2 separate regions of the Homo sapiens genome follow, and region 1 is linked to region 2. Evidence: promoter capture Hi-C in 16 types of primary human blood cells and fetal thymus (Javierre and others, 2016). All regions are on one chromosome and are shown on one strand. The core of a region is centred on a gene start or on the middle of the fragment in contact, and the rest is flanking DNA. Distances in the headings are between cores, read along the strand shown.

Evidence for each region. The method cuts DNA at HindIII sites, captures the fragments that hold promoters and counts their contacts. A CHiCAGO score of 5 or more calls a contact.
Region 1: a fragment that was not itself captured here is called in contact with the fragment with the promoter of MMGT1 in region 2 in 1 of 17 cell types (total B cells); the score reaches 5.3 in total B cells.

The regions. Positions count from the first base shown.
Region 1 is chrX:149,946,745-149,952,719 of GRCh38, forward strand. EOLA2-DT (EOLA2 divergent transcript) reads left to right here. Exons shown (of 12, transcript NR_027456.1): 6 at 1-603; 7 at 1,562-1,650. Among named protein-coding and RNA genes, the nearest start is that of EOLA2-DT, 11 kb to the left of the region's middle. The HindIII fragment of the contact is 1,616 bases long and covers 2,290-3,905 here.
Region 2 is chrX:135,971,559-135,977,765 of GRCh38, forward strand. It overlaps MMGT1 (membrane magnesium transporter 1), which reads right to left and starts at 2,430. Exons shown (of 4, transcript NM_173470.3): 1 at 2,039-2,430. The coding sequence starts at 2,117. It also overlaps a transcript of SLC9A6 not described here. RefSeq lists an enhancer at 1,979-2,508 and a silencer at 2,519-2,628. The HindIII fragment of the contact is 2,640 bases long and covers 1,074-3,713 here.

The DNA.
Region 1 (5,975 bases), core at 1,848-4,347, about 14 Mb after region 2:
TGGAACCCACTGTCTCAGATTGTGTCCTCCAGGAAGCAGACCATGAGAGGGAGTTGGCAGGGCCAAAGATTTACTGGGGCTAACTAACACTCAGGAAAGGGATAGGAAGGAAACAGGGCTGGAGAGCAGGTTGAGCCCGACCTGACAGTCTCGAGCAGCCCAACAGGGAGGTGTGGAGCAAGGGTTGCCCACTAGAGGGGCCTGCATTGGGTACGGGTGATGGGGTCCACATGGTACCTGGCATATAGCAGGCTGTGCAATCCATATTAACTGACTGGATAAATTAATGCCCAGAAAAGGTGCCCTGGAGAATGGGTGTGTGCTGAACACAATAGGGAAGGGCCCAGCATCTGCCTTGGCATAGGCAGAACTGTGCTGTGCCCTGCAACAGGCCACCTGAGAGCTGCTTTGATCTTGTGTGTACATTAGATGACTGCCAGGGGCATGAAGGGGATGTGCTTCCAGGGCATTTGCTGGCAGGGCGTCTCGTGATCTCTTGGTATTGGTGTGAGCACAGCCTGGCAGGAGAGGGCAGATCTCCATGCAAAGTATGTCAGAAAGCAGATGGAAGCCAGGCCCCCTCCTGAAAGAGGCTCCTTGAAGGTAGGTGCACACTCATGTCTTTGTTACTTGTAAGGGGGCATCTTACAGGCAAGAGGAGTTAGGTGAATGTGAAGAGGAAGGAACTACTCTGGGCAGGGGGCTGGGGGACGCTTCGTAGAGGAGGGGGTGTTTGAGCTGGGCCTTGAAGGTCAAAAGGGTTTTGTTAGGTGGGAAATGGGGGAAGGACAGTCTGAAAGGGTTAGGTACATTCAAGGAGCCCAGAGAAGGTTCGTGGCTGGAGCAGACGCATTCGTAGAGTGAAGTCATGGGAGAGAAGAGGCTGGGAAACTAGATTGGTTCCAACTCCTAAAGGACCACTGAAGGAGTGTGGGCTGCACGCTGGGTGCAGCAGGTGAGTTTCCTCACTTGGGTTTCACTGTCAGCATTTTAAAAAGGCAAACTGGTTTTCTTCCTGAGAAGAATTCATTGATTCACTTGTGGCCAGTAAGTCATCTGGGCCAGAGGTTGGTGGGGAGATGATAGGGGTGCAAGTGTCATCTTCAATCACAGCATAACTGCCCTTGCTTTCTTACCTCTCGTTTAGATATTTCAATGCTTGCTCAGGTCCCCTGCGCCCTCCTTCCTTCTCCCTTCCCAGCCATACTACTTATGGGATGACTTTCTCTTTGTAAAATGACCGTTAGTCTTATCAAATTAATCCCAAAGTAATACCATCAATTTCCCCCTAAAATACCAACAAGACCCCTGCTTGAAACTGCTTGTACATTAGAGACAGAGAAGAGTCCATGAGAATCAACATTTTCTGAGGACTCCAACTGTGTGCCAAGAGAGTTCCCCTGCTGGTGCCTCCTCTGTAGTAAAGGAAAGGTAACATTCCTGCAAGGCTTTGAAGCTTACAGCGTGCTTGCCCTTAGATTCTTGTGTTGTGTTCTGGGTCAGCAGGAATGCCTCGCCAGGTCCTTTTTCTCATCCTAATGTGACACTGAATTCTTCACAGGCTCCTGGGACCACATTATCATTCTCTTCACTCGAGAGATGAGGACACTGAAATTCAGAGAGGGGAAGTGATTTGCCTCAGCTTGTACTGTAAGTGATCAAGGCAGGACTCAACCAGTCTTTTTGACCCTGACTATGGTGATTTGATCTCTACACCACAAGATGGTGGTGGAATGGTGGAATATGGTAACTAGAAGGCCCTTTCTAGCTCAGGACACATTTGATGCTGTGACTGTTTGGGAATTCAGTCCTGACCAATTTAAGAGGTTGTGTTTCTTAGCTGTCTCTGGCTCCTGGTTTGCCCAGTTTGATTCTGTGCCTGCCTAGCAAAACCTCTCTGTCTGTGGTCTAAGAAGCCTGACATCTCTGAACTAGTCCTCTTCCTGTCCACTCAATATCGACAGAATCTCATGGTATGTCCTCCTGGCTCAGCCATGGAATAAAGCCAGCTCTGTTGTTTTTGTCCTTGTGTTGTGCCCCAGCTTAGGAAGAATAACTCTTCAGGCTGCCTCTCCCATGCTAGGTCACATGCAGGTCACACATTCCCAGGTAAATTTTGCACTTTGTTTATCTGGAATTTGTCTTAATTTCCTTGTCCTTGTTTCTGATTGTGTACTCTCTTCCCTTCTGTCTCATTATCTGGGCCCTATGTCTTTTCTCATGGTTTCTCTTCTGTAAGTCTCTAGACCCGATGCAAGTACACAGTGAAGTGAATGAAGTTAAAGATAAAGCTTCAGTGTCTCTTGCTTGAACAGCCCTGGAAGGAGCCCTAGCATTATGGTCCTACAGTTGTATGGTTTGGAAAATCTACAAAAGATATTTTAACCACAGTTGGTTCAGGGAATCTTTCTTTCCACTATGCTGTCTCTATCCCTCTTGCCTGTGTGTTGGGTAGCAATGCAATGACCATGGTCATATTGAGAATTCAACTAAGGGGACATTAAGTTGGGATTCATTTAGTTTAGGATATATTTTTGAGATATCTTTCAGGAGTCCACAGGCAATTCCATATATTTCCCAGTTTTTGCCAGCTGCCCTTTATTGGAATAGCTTGCAGGAATACTTCTGCTCACTGTGCTGATGCATCCAGTGTTAGGACAAGAGGGGTGAGGCTGAAGGGTACATTGTAATGTCACTGTGACCTGCAGCACTTGGCATCAGGGGTATGTTGGCAGTGGAGGAGAACCAAGATTCACAATGTACAGCACCAGAAGCTAGTCTGTGGAAAAATCTTCCAGTCATCAATCAGATGTGTAAAATTGTAAGTGAAGGATTCCATTTTCACTGAAAAGCAAAAGTGCTCTCTTGTCAGAAATATACCCAGCGTGCAGTGTACGCAATTGTAAATACAAGATACATTTATTTGCACATTTGGAAGGGGATTTTGTGAAATGGCATTTTTCAGAATTCCTGTGATTGTAGGACATGGACCTGTAGAAGGACTAGAAACATTGAGTAGTATGCAGAAGAGTTTTGCTGGGCAGGCACAGAATTAAACTGCGCAAACCAGGAGCCAGAGACAGCTAAGAAACACAACCTCTTAAATTGGTCGGGACTGAATTCCCAAACAGTCACAGCATCAAATGTGTCCTGAGCTAGAAAGGGCACAGTCATAGTTCCTGTGACTGCTACCCTTAGAAAGACCTGCTTGGAAGTTACGCTCCCTGCTGGCATCTGGAAACTTGACTCTCAGAATTTCCCTAGTCAACAGTTAACTGATAAGATGGCTCACTGTGCCTTGACTGTTGATACAGAAAACGTAGTTTATGCTGAATATCTGCTTTCCTTCTGGGAGTCTGGAATTTTGGTGCATGCTAGGCAGAGGAAGTCTCTGTTACCAAACACCAGTGTAAAGTGTGGGCAATGAGTCTGGGCTTCTCTGGCCAGAAACATCACACGTGCCACTGCATATTTGTTGCCGAGAGAAGCATGTGCTCTGTGTGGCCCCTCATGGGAGGGAGAGAGCATAAGGAAGTCTGTGCATGGGCTCCTCCAAACTTTGCCTGTCTTTTCTGCTTGTGATCTGGCTGTGTGCCCTAACTACATTGCTGTAATAAATCTTGGTTGTGATTATAACTATATGCTGAATCCTGTGTTTCCAACTATAACAAACAAGAAAAGCAGGAATAACATACTATAGAAGTGCATGAGGCAGTTAAGTACTAAAGATAAGTAGCTATTTATGTTATTTTTTTCTAAATTTTCAGATGTTTCTAACATTTGTCAACGTTTTCAAATGTGTGTTCTTTTGTTTTTTTTTTCTCACTTTAAATATTTGCTTTTGTTCCCAATTTTATACTGGTAATTTTGCATTCTTATACTTAAAGAAGGCCCCAGATGTTACAAGCTTCAAGCCCCACAAAACCTGGATCTGTCTCTGTCTTGGATCCAAGACTTGCTGCCTCATGTTGGTTTTCCTGTTGTCACTTCATATTACACAGATGGGGAAATTAAAGCCAAGAGAGGGGAAGCTAACCTTACTTGGCAAAACTGGGACAGGATCCAGTTCTTCCAATTCCCAGTTTAATGAGTGCTCTTTCCCCCTATTCTGTAAAGTTTTTTGGTAACTTGTCTGTAAATATCGGTCATGGTACATTGTCCACTGGGTGGCACTCAAGAGATTGAAATTTGAGTTCCTTCTCTTTGAGTAGTTGGGTAGTCTTGAACTAGTCCCTTTCCCTCCTGGGACAGATTTTCCCAGTTTGTAAAATAAAGGGGCTGGATTTAGTGCTCTTTATAGACCTTTCTCTCTCAGATATTTCCTGAGTTTTTCATTCTAGAAATGCTGGAATCATATATTTGTAACTGAAACTAGTAATCTTCTTGTTCTTGAGTCTTCTTCATCTCTAAAGTGGACATAAAATACATACCTCTCGTGGTTGTTGTGAAGCCCGTGGCACTATTCATGGTAGAGCAGGTGATCAAAAGTCGCTTGCATCCTTCTGTCCAATTGGGAACAAAAGCTTTCATGTATAATTCTCACACCTCTCCCTTGGAATCAGACAATCTTATCAGAAAACCTAAAAATTTTTTTCAATCAATTTAGAAGTTTATTTTGCCAAGGCTAAGGACATGCCTGTGACACTGCCTAAGAAGGTCCTGGTGACATGCCCAAGGTGGTCAGGCCACAGTTTGGTTTTTAGGGAGATATAAGACATCAACTGATACATGTGAGATGTACATTCGTTTGGTCTGGAAAAGCAGGACAAATGGAAGTTGGAGGACTTCCAGGTCATAGGCAGGTTCAGAAATTTTCTGACTGGTATTAATAATTGGTTGAGTTATTATCTAAAGACCTGGAATCATTAGAAGGGAATGTCTGGTTTACGATAAGGAGTTGTGGAGACCACAGTTTTATCATGCAGATGAAACCTCCAGGTAGCAGGCTTCAGAGAGAATAGATTGTAAATGTTTCTTATTAGACTTAAAGAGTCTATTGTATCAGTCTTAAGGACAGTGTTCATGTTGATGGTAATGAGGCATGTCCGACTCCCCCTTCCTCATCATGTCCTGAACTAGTTTTTCAGGTTAACTTTGGAATGCCCTTGGCCAAGAGGAGGGGTCCATTCAGGTGGTTGGGGAGCTTAGAATTTTATTTTTGGTTTACATTCTTTCCTTCTGGCCAGGATTTGCCAGAGGCAACATCAATGGACAAACTTTTATTTTGTCCCATAGCATTGTGGAGGTGGTTTGGCTGCCTGCCCCAGGTCCATCCTGTCCCTTGGTAGGATCTCTATGGCCAAGAGACTTACAGCCAAAAGACTTATAGACAGTTTAAATGTTCTAGGCCAGACAGGAATGGACGTGGACAGGCATTTATTACTCCTTAACAATTTTGAAGTAATGTAAAAGCCAACAAACAGAAAGTAAAAGGCGAGGTTACAAAATTGCCTTATCTATCTTTAACTTCTATGCATTGAGCTACTGTAGTCTTGGTTTTAGTTACAGATTTTTAGCAATTGGCTATATAAGCAAGCCTAAATTTTAAAAAGAAGAGAAAATGAAGCATACATTTAAAAGTTCTTAAACTTTTTTTTTGAAACAGGGTTTCACTTTGTCACTCAGGCTGGAGTGCAGTGATGTGATCATAGCTTTCTGCAGCCTTGACTTCCGGGCTCAAGTGATCCTCCCACCTCCGCCTCCTTAGTAGCTAGGACCACAGGCATGCACCAGCACACCCAGCAAATTAAAAAAAAATTTTTTTTAAAGATGAGATCTCACTATGTTGCCCAGGCTGGTCTGAAATTCCTGTCCTCAAGCAATCCTCCTGCCTTAGCCTCCCAAAGTGCTGAGATTACAGGCATGAGCTACCATGCCTGGCCTAAAACATTTTTAATGGAAGTATAATTTGCAAACAGAAAACATGCCCAAATATTAAGTGAATGCACTGATGAACATTCACAACTTAACAAGAT
Region 2 (6,207 bases), core at 1,180-3,679:
ACTAACTCGCCAAAGAAATCACAATTATTTAAAAAGTAAAGTCTACAGAAAATCTCAACTCTGAAATAGCACCACCACCAACCACACAGTATGGACAAAATAATACTGGTATGGAAATGGTTCTCCTGAGAGGATACGCTGGGGCAGTGGTGGAATAGGAATTCCATGAAATCAATTTCTGCCTCTACTAGTTAATTATAATTCCGCTGCTGCTGCCTTAACCTCAGGAGGCAGCAAGGGATAAAAGAAAAGGATCAGGATTTGGAAACTGGTAAGCCTAAATCAGTGCCAGCTCTTCAATTTACTATAATTTCATTTAATTAAAGAAGCCCGCAGTGATCATAATACATATCTCAAGTTCAGAGTGTTAAAATGGTGGGTGTCTTAGAATCAAAGAAATACAGTATCTATTTTTTTCATTACCTGAATTTCCACAACAGTAAAATGAGAATAATGTGAGGTGAGGATTAAACAAGATACAGTAAATGACTGGTGCCCTACTGTAACAAAGTTCATTACAGCAAAGATGAGCATGCCACAGCACCACATTGTGCTATCTGCTGCTACAGTCTGACATGACACACTTAGTCTTAAAGTTACATATTACTCTCTCCCTAACATGAGCATTATATATAAAGAGGTCTCACTGCAGTGGCAAATCCACAAGGCATTCTCATCACCCAAAACATAAAATACAAAAATCTTAATTCTAGATGAACCTAGGACAATCCCTATTTAATAACGTACTTTGGACTAAATAATTCAAACTGTTTTTGAGTGCATGTGTATTGACTCTTGAAGAAGAATGTGTTTAGAGACATTTCTTAAGTTTTAACCTACAGCTCTGTCATAAAGACAAGTGTAAAAGAAACATCAAACCAACACCAAAAATCGATTTTGACTAATCTCCTATCTGGTTCAATTCCTAGCTAGCTTGCTAGTTTGCATGAAGCCTCGCCTGCTTCTAACACTACCTTTAACCAGGAATTTCCTCATCTGTAAAATGAAGGGGTTGGACTTCAGTGAACTCCAAAGGCCCTTCTCGCCCCACAATCATATAATTCTACAGTTAAAGCTTACTGTAGAAAATGACACAGTACTCCAGTGTATCCTAATCTCTTCCAGGACAGTGTTTCTCAAACTAATGCGCATACAAATCACCCTGGGATCTTATTAAAACCCAGATTCTGATTGAACAGGTCTGGCCTGAGTATCTTCTAATTACCTGCCAGGTGGTGCTCATGATGCTGGTCTGTTGATCACACTGTAAGCAGCAAGGATCTAGGATACTTTCCTTAACCTCCCAGTTCCCCCAAAATATGACTGTCCCTGCTTCCATGCATCCTTATATACTTTTAGCATATCACTTTATTGTAACTACTTCTTGATCCACTTGTTTTCCTTTAGACTTTGAACTGGCTCAGGGCATCACTGTATCTCTAGCACCTAAACACAGCGCAATTTCAAACAGCGACCCAAAACTGAATTTCATAACGCAGTGTAGCACAAATCTTTTGCCCAACGTCACACAGATGTAGCGGTAATGCAAGTTTTTAACAACCAGTCCTTTAGACTCCCAGTCCAGTGCTCTTTCTCCTGTACCACAGTGCCTCCCTGAGGCAATCGGTCACTTAACTACTCAGTCTCTGCCTGGACAGCCCAAGAGTGCCCAAGATGTTGTCCACTTGGTTGTCGTGGGACCATGAGCAACCAGAGTCCTCAATCTCACAACTGTGCCTGATCTGCCCCATGCTGGATCTGACATCACTTGTCCTGGATTCCTGGAGACTCCTATTCTGAACCCTCTCCCAGACACCTCCTTCCAACCTTCCTGCAATTTCAGGTGCCACACTCTCTCCAAATTCAAACTCCGAACCTTCCACTGGGAACTCCTGCACTGATTTTCTTAGTCACCCCAAACTGTAAGGTCTCAAAGGACCATTAATCTGACACTCGGTCCGATGGTCCCTTAGAAGTGCGCCCACACACCGCCCCTAGGGTTCCACACCGAAGCGGTCCCCGTGCCCCAGGCACTTACGCTGCGCAGCGGAAAAGGCGGCGTGGGCTAGGGCAAAGAGACCGATGCCCACCAGCCCCTTCCACAGCGACGGCGCCATGATGCCGAAGGAGCAGCAGCCCAGCAAAAGAAGCGAAGGACGGCGGAGCTGTTTCTTCTTCCACCGGCGGGTGTCCGCGCGCCGCAGAAAGATGACGTCACTGAAGTCCTGAGCGCAAAGTGTCTCAGTGGTGGAAAAGCCAGAGGGCTGTGAGAAAACGGAAACAGGAATGCCGGGAAGAAGCAGAAAGCTACACGGAAAAAGGTCCGCGAGAACCCACGAACCTGCGCTATGGAGGCCTCTCTAGGAGGGCCGGAGCCCAACGGAGTCATAAACGAAGAGGCGAAAGCGGGAGCTACGGGGAAGCGAAGAGGAAGGGCGCCGGCAAATGGGGGCAGGGCCAGTGGCGAGAACAGGGTGGGGCAGAGGGACGGGGGCCTGCGTAGAGAACGTGTGGGGGCGAGGGGCGGGGTAGGCAGACGGGCGGGGTGGGGAAGACGCGCGGGGCCCGCACGAGGGTGGGTGTAGCCGAGGGGCGGGGCCAGTGGGTGGGTGGGTGGGCGTAGCCGGGGGGGGGGGGCCCTGGTGGGTGCGGTCGAGTGGCGGGGCCTGCGGGGAGGATGGGTGGGGCCGAGGGGCGGGGAGGAGGTGGGGCCGAGGGGCGGGGAGGAGGTGGGGCCGAGGGGCGGGGAGGAGGTGGGGCCGAGGGCGGGGCCTACGGGAGGATGGGTGGGGCGTAGGGGGCGGGGCGGAGGGGACGGAGAGTGGGTGAGGGCCGAGGGGGCGGGGAGGAGGTGGGACCGAGGGGCGGGGAGGAGGTGGGACCGAGGGGGCGCGGAGGAGTGGGACCGAGGGGGCGGGGAGGAGGTGGGGCCGAGGGGCGGGAGGAGGTGGGGCCGAGGGGCGGGGCTGGGGGCGTTGGGGAAAGGCGGTAGGTGCTGGATATAGACCCCTGACAGTTGTGTTTTGTGGGTTGGTTGGTTTTGGCTTTTTGTGAAACTGTGCCTTTTGTTTTCTGTAGGCCTTTCCTGTGCTTCAGCTCCCTGGAAACTGGCACTGCAGAAGGAGGCAAGGGTGTTAAAACGAGGAGGCAGTGTCAGGACAAAATCCCAGGATCTGGAACCCCAAATACTTGGCTCGCGGGAAGTGCTCAGTAAACCATTTTAAGGTCCTGGAGAAAGATTCGCGCAAAAAGAGGTGTAGCGCGGGGGGAGTGTTTTGTCGTGAAAAGAACCAGCTTACATTAAGGAAGAAATGAAAGAGGAAATTTTAAAATGCTAATAACGCAGCCTTCTTGCCTTGTCTCTATCTCTGATCCGGGTAAAATGTATACTCCTCTGCCCATTTTTCTTTGTCTTCATCTCCTGAAATGTAGACATTTAATAGTGAGCTTCTCCCCTTGACCTCATCACTCTGCTGTCCCCTGGGGAGCTCACCCATTCATTCCCACCGCTTCAGCCAGCAAAGGTATTACAGTGATTCCAAATCGACATCTCTATCACAAATATCTCTCCTTAGCTCCAGGGCTGCATTTCTGACTACCAGATAGGCATTTATTTCCTGTGGCACTTAAAACGTAATATGGCTAAAATGGAATTCATCCTTTTTTTCCAAATTCTGCACCAGTTCCTCCAGTGACCCCTGACTGAGTGGCAAAGCTTTGTAAACTGCATATCACAAGGTAAATGCAAAGTATGATCACCATTCTTTTCCTTTAACCCAATCAGAATTCTACGTTTTAGTTGCATCAATTTGCTTTTGCTCAAAGATGCGTCCTATCCTGACCACCCCTTTTAAATGTGCAAAATTCCTATTCCTGATCCCCTTATTCTGTTCTACTTTTTATATCACCTTCTAACATACTATATAATTTAACTATTTATGTTTGTTGTGTTACTGTTTACTGTCTGTCTTTCCCCACTGGAATGTAAGCTCTGAGAGAACAGAGATTTCTCTGTACCTAAAACTTTGACTGTCATGTGATAAGCATTCAATAAGTGCTTGTTGAATGACAAATGAATTCCGGAAAATAATTGGGACAGTATCCCTATTTGAAAGGATCTCTACAGAGAGTCCTTCCAATCTTTTGAATTGGGCTCAAAAATCCCCATGGACTTGCATGTACTCTCACATTTTGACAACCTTTTGATTGTAAACATTTTCTGATATGCTTGAGCTTCCTCAAAGCTGGAAAAACAAATAAGACATCTCATTAGCTGGGCATAGTAGCACATGCTTGTAGTCCTAGCTACTTGGGAAGCTAAAGAAGGAGGATTGCTTGATCCCAGGAGTTCAAGGCTACAGTGAGCCATGATTATGCCACTGCACTACAGGCTGAGTGACAGAGCGAGACCCTTTCTCTAACCAAAAAAAAAAAAAAAAAAAAGTAGAAGAAGACATCTAAAATTAATCATATTTCCTCAACTTTACTTATATAATTTTTGTCCTGGATCTCATTTTCCAAACCTTTAGTCATGTTCATTATTCTTTTCTGGGCCCTTTCCAATTTCTTCACCTCTAAGCCAGAATTTTACACAATACTTGATGGATGTCAAGTGCAGTATAATGCATTCCTTACAAATGTAGTTCTATTTATACAATCAGGAAGAACCAGGAGATAATCTCTCTGTAGTTGACAGGAAAGTGCTTCCTTCTCCGCCCCTGGGAGGTAATAAGGTAGAAAAGATAGTTGACCAAAAAAATCTTACAACTTTGTTTTGTCTAAAATAATGGTCAGATTGAAATTAGCCTTTTCAGATCCCCTGTAAAATTACCCCTTCTTCCAGACCAGCCTGGCCAACATGGTGAAACCCCATCTCTACTAAAAATACAAAAAATTTGCCGGGCGTGGTGGTGGGCCCCTGTAATTCCAGCTACTCAGGAGGCTGAGGCAGGAGAATCGCTTGAACCCAGGAGGCGGAGGTTGCAGTGAGCCGAGATCACGCCATTGCACTCCAGCCTGGGCAACAAGAGTGAAACTCCATTTCCAAAAAAAAAAAAGAAAAAAGAAAAAAACCCTTTTAATATCAATTTATCTGAAGCAGAAAATGATTAGGAGTTTTCTTATAGGACCTGAGATCTGGTTCTTTTCCTTTAAAAAGATGAAGTTATAGGAAAAAAGAAATTCAATAATGAATCTGGTATTTGTATAAACCACCAATGCATTATCCTAGTCTTCAGGGAGATCACCCATGTCCAGATATTGAGTTTTGTTTTCTCTATTGCCCTCTTAAGATGCATTTCTCACTCTTTTTTTACCTCTTTACCCATATACTGAATGCAAGAGAAACTAGCCTCGTTTCACATTTTCTAGTAATACATGGTTAAATTATGTTCAGGGAGTGAGATTTTAATTGTCTTTTCTGTAGATTCCAACCTGAAGGGAAGCCAAGGTATTCATAGTCACAGTTACCAAGGACTGTATCATTCAAATAAGTACCTTGGGTTCACTCATACATGGTTCTTTAAGTTGCAGTTAATCCCAAAGGTGCAAGGTACAGCTAGTGGTAGCACTGTTTTCATGAGCTCTTAGAACAAAAGTCAAACCTCATGAGAAAGTGCATTTAAATTCCTAAGTGACCCCAGAAGTGCTGTTTGTTTTTCCAAAGAAAGAGCCATTTTCCATATGCACCTTGGATAAATGATGTGGATGTTATTAAAGATGGGGATAATGGTCTCTAAAGCGTTTCCTACTGAGATGTTATTTGTGAAGACTTATCACGTTTCCCAGGCTAGTTCACTGAATAGAGAAAGCACTGCTATCCCAGACTCATCTTCAAGCTAATTGACTTATTACATGCCACCCAGCTCCACGAGTATCTTCACACACTGCTTATCCACGTCTCCATTTTCCATGCAGATTCTCCCTCGATCTGGCACACTGTTCTTTCCCACCTGGTTCAAAATTCCACTTTCCTTAGGAATATGCTCCTGACTATTATAGATATTTATGAGATATATACCTATTGTAGGCACAAAACCTTTCTTTGAGCTATTTATATTTCGTACAACCTCTCTGGGTAACACATTCTAGAAGTTTACTACCTGCCGAGTAAACTAGTACTTTCAATATTGAAATCGCATCCTGTTTACTTTTTTTTTTTCATTACCAAAGTGGTATGAGCTCATTGTAAGAAATTCAAACAATAAA